Linked DNA regions of Homo sapiens: region 1 is linked to region 2. The links are contacts of gene promoters, found by promoter capture Hi-C in human tissues and cell types (Jung and others, 2019). All regions are on one chromosome and are shown on one strand. Each heading gives the region's core, a stretch centred on a gene start or on the middle of the fragment in contact. The rest is flanking DNA. Distances are from core to core; before and after follow the strand shown.

Region 1 (2,863 bases), core at 363-2,862, 370 kb before region 2:
GGGTTACCCTCAGCCAGCTCCTCCTCTGGCTTCCTGCCGTCACACCCTCCCCACTGGCCTCCACCACCCACGTGTAGCTGTGGGGGAGGGGGAAAAGGGGCTGTTCTGGGCTCCCCACCAGCAAGCCTGGTTTTTACAATTTCAACCTCTGATAAAAAGCTCTACAACACCTATTGTAGGAAGGAGTGGAATCAATTATGATTTCCCGAGGCAATTTTACTTACATTTCACACTGCTCTATGACAAATTCCACTTCATTTGTGTTCGCTGTATAAATGCATTCCCCAGCATCCACCTGAACCAGCACCAGCCTTGTTACAGCAGCTGCTCACACCTGCGCTATGACGACGTGGGTGCCGTGCACATCTGGGAGGGCACTGGGACCATCCTGACAGGAAGCCATACCCAAGCCACAGTGGCTGCAGACGGCCCCTCACCAGGGAGGAGGACGTGACCCTCGCAAGGTCTCGCCAGCATGCCTGACCCACGCGGATATGGGGCCATGGGCCTGAGACAGGCCCTGTGCCGCATGGCTCTATTTTGAGTGCAGTTTATTTGACAGGACAGGGAGAAAGGAGAGCAGGGCAACGTGGGAAACAGACAGCACAGTGGAGTCACGGCTCTGGGGCCACTACTCAGCCTGAGCAGTCAGACGGGTTCCTTTCCTCTCTAGGCCTCCAGCGTTCCTATCAGCAAAACAGGGAATTAGATGGACTTGGTCTTCTACAGTTCAAAAATCTTACAGTGCTGCAAAGTCTAGGTGGCTTTCTCCACCGACGGGTAACAGGCAGGCAGCCAGTGCCCAGGGTGCCAGGCACACTCCGGGCCTTGTGCCAAGGAGTTTCCATGCATCAGCTCCCTGACCCCTCATTCATGCGGGACGCCCGGCCCCAGTCCCTGTCCAGTGCCTGGAACAGAACAGGTGCTCAGGAACTGTGTGTTCAATTAAAAAATGAACGAGTGAAACCATCAGCCAATCAGTCCTCGGAACCACCTCCTGAGGCAGGCTGGAGTCCTCCCTTTCAGATGAGGACAAGGCTCCAGGGGAAGGCGCGCGCCCCAGGTCTCCAGCCTCCGTGAAGCCGAGCCTGGGCTCTTGGCCATCATGCTAACGGGCAGGTGGGAAAGCGCTTGCCCAGCCCTGGGCTCTAATAGCTACCTAAAGCCCCCGGGCAGCAGTGACCCCACGAGTCCTGAAAAGATTTGGTGCACATCCATGGCCAGGGGCAGGCCATTACCCAAACAGCTCTGACATCAGGGTCCTTCCTCAACTGAAAGCTCATCTCAGCTGGGGAGAGCTGGCCTTGCCTTCGTCTCCTTCAGAGCTGTGCTGGGCTGAGTGGGGCCAGAAATCAGCATGAGGAGAATTCAAAACAAGATGACTCGCCCATGGGAAGTACCTCCCACCAGGCTCGAGGGACCCTGTGCTGCTTCTGGCATTTTGAATTCGCGCCCAGGGCTGTGGGCTCCCACCAGGGTCAGGCCAGCTCCTAGCAAGTGGTGAGGGGGGTGGCGCCGGCCTGCTCTCCCAGAACTCAGCCTGGAGAGGGAGGCAGACGTGAGCACTGTAAGAACAGGCGAGGACAGGCAGGGCACTCAGGGAGCCCCACACCAGGAAGGAAGACCCACTCTGCACACAGGGAGAGTGTGCATGGGGCAGGGGGGCAAGGCGCCCCCGCAGAAGGACGTGGAGAGGGCACCAGCTGAGAAGATGCCCCCAGCCCACTGGTATCACGTGTCTACTGCCTTCTTGGGGTACAGCAGCGTGGGCTGAGGACACCCAGCTGACGCTGCCACTGACTGGCCATGATAAACAGACGCAGAACTCCGAGAGCTCACGCTCCCAGCCCAGCACCCCACTCATACACTCGCCAGCCAGGCACCACGTGCCAGGCCCTGTGCTGGCCAGGAGGTGGGCCCTTCGATCATCCCATTCTCACAGAGACAGCCCGGGTGCTGCAGGTGTGAGTAACGCACCCCGGGGGCACAGAACACCTGGGTGCGGAGCCCCAGTTTGAACCAGCCCAGATGACCCGGTCACCCCTGCCCTCGCCTGCTTCACTGCACTAGAACTAAAGGAAACAAGATGGATACTCCATGGAGCAAGGCCCTGAAAGGCTGTGGGCCCCGAAGCAGTGGAAGGAATGACAGAGAAAGACCAGCACGCTTCGCCACACCAACACCTCCGTGGGTCCCAAAACGCCACTTAAAAACACAAAAGGTAAAAGACAAACTGGGGAAAACGTGCCACAAATACATGAAAACCTTTTACAAATCAATAGGAAAATCACTAACACGGTAATAGAAAACTGGGAAAAATCAACAATCAACAGAAGAAACGTAACTGACAAACACAAAATTCATTAAGACCCGTTCCTCACCTGGAGTGGCAAGAAGTAAAATGCTAACACTCAGCACGAGTGAGGCCATGAGGGCTGCACGCTACACCTGCTGGGACAGCAGTCACGGGCGCTTCTGGAAAACGAGTCAGCAAAACTGGCCAAGGGTCCTGAAGGTGTTCACACCCTTCCACTCAGTAACAATTGCCTAAAAAGTAATCAGACTGCGGTGGCTCACACCTGCAATCCCAGCACTGTGAGAGGCCGAGGCAGGAGAATCACCTGAGACCAGCCTGGGCAACATAGTGAGACCCCATCTCTACAAAAAAAATTTTTTTTTAATTAGCCAGGCGGGGCGGCATGCACCTATAGTCCCAGCTACTGGGGAGGCTCAGGCAGGAGGATATATTGAGCCCTGGAGTTCAAGACTGCAGTGAGCCAAGATGGCGCCACCACATTGCAGCCTGGGCGACAGAGCAAGACCCTGTGTCTAAACAAATAAATAAATAACAAATGAATCAGAT
Region 2 (2,959 bases), core at 116-2,615:
ATGGTTAAGATGGGCCGGGCGCGGCGGCTCACGCCTGTAATCCCAGCACTTTGGGAGGCCGAGGCGGGCGGATCACGAGGTCAGGAGTTCGAGACCATCCTGGCTAACACGGTGAAACCCCGTCTCTACTAAAAATACAAAAAATTAGCCGGGCGTGGTGGCGGGCGCCTGTAAGTCCCAGCTACCCGGGAGGCTGAGGCAGGAGAATGGCGTGAACCCGGGAGGCGGAGCTTGCAGTGAGCCGAGATCGGGCCACTGTATTCCAGCCTGGGCGACAGAGCGAGACTCTGTCTCAACAACAACAACAACGACAACAACAACAACAACAACAACAACAAAGGTTAAGATGGTAAATTTTATGTTCTATATATTTTACCATAATTTAAAAAAAAAATGACTGGGCCTGGCGCGGTGGCTCACGCCTGTAATCCCAGAGCTCTGGGAGGCTGAGGCAGGAGGATTGCTTGAGTCTAGGGGTTCAAGACCACCCTGGGCAACATAGTGAGACCCCCGTTTCTATTAAAAATTAAAAATTAGCCGGGTGTGGTGGCACCTGTCTGTAGTTCCATCTACTTGGGAGGCTGAGGTGGGAGGATGGCTTGAACCCAGGAGGTCGAGGCTGCAGTGAGCTGTGACTGCACCGCTGCACCCCATCCTGGACGACACGGTGAGATCCTGTCTCTAAAAAAATAAACAAACAAACACACAAAACTACATTGATGCCAAGAACAATTACTGCATGCTCACTATGCATTAGGCATCTTGCTAAGCTCTTTACCCGTGTCATCTCGTTTGTCTCACATACTCCCTGAAAGGTAGGGTCACTAACCTATTATATTTTACGGATTGGCGACAACCTCAGAGAGGTTAAGTCACTTGCCCAAGGTCACACAGCGAGTCTCAAGCCCCAGCCGGTGAGCATCACGATCCTTTGCCAATGAGCCGATGCTCGAGAAAGGGTCGGATAGACAACAGGCACTGCATAAAGGTTGGTTAACGGGATCGTGTTTGGCTGCAACGTGGAGCTCCCGGGTCGAACGGCGAGACAGCTGCGCGTCCCCGAGCCGCCGCGCGCCCGGTCCGCCGGGGCGGAGTCAACGCCGCGGATTGGCTGCTGAGAAAGGGGCGTGGCTCGTGGCGGCCGGTGGGCGGAGTCGATCTCTGGCCGTAAATACGGCGCCACATGGCACTGGCTCGCGAGGGCGGGGGCGGGCGGGCTGGCCGGGCGCAGGCGCGCTGAGGGCGGGCGCCCCTCGGCCTCCGTGGCCCCTCCGGCGGCCGCGACGTCTCGCGAGAAGACGACCGGTAGGAGGGGCTCCTGCGCCGGGGGCGGGGCCGGCGAGGGCTGCCTCTGGGGGGTCCGCTAGTCGCGGGGCGGCGGCGGCGGCTGCGGGCGCGAGGTGAGGGGCGCGAGGTGAGGGTCGCGAGGTGAGGGGCGCGGCGGGCGGCGGGCTCGGGGCGCGGTCTCCCTCTCTCTCGGCCAGTGCTGGGCTCCCAGGGCCCGGGCGGGGGTCCCGGGCCGCGCTGAGGGGCGCGGGTCGGCTCTCCTTAACCTGGCCTGGCGGGCGCGGCTTGGGCCTGGGTTCGAGTTCCCGCGCCGGCGCGCAGTGTGACCTTGGCCCTGCGCGCGCCCTCTCTGAGCCCCGCTCGTCGTCCTCGGCCAGGGGGACCCAGCCCTGGGGCCCTGATCAGCGCGTTCTGCGGCTCCTCGGGGTCTGGACGAGAAATCTGTGGTTCTGATTCAGCGACAGCAGAGGCTGCAGCGGCCCCGCCGGCCCCCAGGAGTCCCCCTGCCCGGCATCAGCCTCTGCCGCCCGGCAGGGGTAGGACCAATTCCCGGGCTTGGAGTTCCAGGATCCCCAGCTCCCGAGGGCCCCCGTGTGCCTGCTGTCACCTGAACGGGGCTCCCCGGCCCCGCCGACCGCAGCCCTGGAGCCTGCAGACGCCAGCAGCACCGGCAGGTCGCTCAGGGTATCCCTTAAATGACCTCTCACTCCAGAAGCCGCAGCCCTGCCCCTCTGGGAGAGGAAACCGTGCATTTAGTCCGGGAACAGTGGGACTTAGACCTCCTCTGCGGGCTCCCGGCCACCGAGACACCGCCGGCAAAGCCTTGGCTCGGGCAGAGGCTCCGTCTGGCAGGCAGCACAACAAGCCATAGTGTTTCCAGCATTATTAAATTATTTAGTTCATAAGCGGGGCTGTGGGGACTCGGAAGCCCCGGGGTGAATAGGAATGTGAGTTGCAGGCGCGGTGCTGGACGCAGTACATCTTCCAGGACACCAGGCCCTACGGTGCTGTTCCCGGCTGTGGGTGGTTGGGGACAGCTCAGCGGGTCCCCCACTTACCCCCACGCGGGGACCCGGGTTAGCCCCTCACCGTGAGCATCTGGTGTTGGGAGTCAGGGCTGGTGTCTGAGTGAGGATGGAGAGAAAACAGGGGTAATGAGGAGATTGCTACACGAAGGTGCAACGCTTGAGATCTGAAAGAGCACCTGCCTGGAATGGCATAGATGTTTGATTTCCCTGCAAAGGAGTTTATGGGACTTTGGGCTGACGCTTTGGGGCCAGCAGTAACTGTCTGCTGTCACTCAGCTGACTCCAGCTTTATTATCAAACCTCCAATCGAGTGCAAGATGCTAAGCTGGGGTAGATGCCGGTAATAGCGTGGGCCTTGCCCTGGGAGCTCACGGCCAGCCTGGCTACAACTGTGTGGAGTTGAGACTGTGGTGCAGGCGTTAACAGAATGTGGCGACATTTTCCGACATTTTCCACAGTGGAGAGGACCTATGAATTGGGGCGTTTGGAGGCAAAGGGCATGCAGAGATGTGGAAGTGAAAGTGATGTTTGGGGGAGATGGTGGGTCGCCGTGTTCTTGATGAAGTGGGGTTTGAGGATTGGGTTGGAAGCTAAGACTGGAAGGCCGGGCGAGGTGGCTCGTGACTGTAATCCCAGCACTTTGG

Evidence for each region. Contacts are between HindIII fragments. The study calls those that stand out against the background at their distance.
Region 1: a fragment that was not itself captured here is called in contact with the fragment with the promoter of CHST12 in region 2 in 1 of the 25 tissues and cell types used here (dorsolateral prefrontal cortex).

The regions. Positions count from the first base shown.
Region 1 is chr7:2,031,266-2,034,128 of GRCh38, forward strand. All of the region lies in intron 12 of MAD1L1 (mitotic arrest deficient 1 like 1), which reads right to left. Among named protein-coding and RNA genes, the nearest start is that of SNORA114, 56 kb to the right of the region's middle. RefSeq lists enhancers at 147-828, 1,511-2,190. The HindIII fragment of the contact is 6,845 bases long and covers 1-2,863 here.
Region 2 is chr7:2,402,246-2,405,204 of GRCh38, forward strand. It overlaps CHST12 (carbohydrate sulfotransferase 12), which reads left to right and starts at 1,366. Exons shown (of 2, transcript NM_018641.5): 1 at 1,366-1,428. RefSeq lists an enhancer at 843-942 and silencers at 1,033-1,402, 1,493-1,662. The HindIII fragment of the contact is 33,157 bases long and covers 1-2,959 here.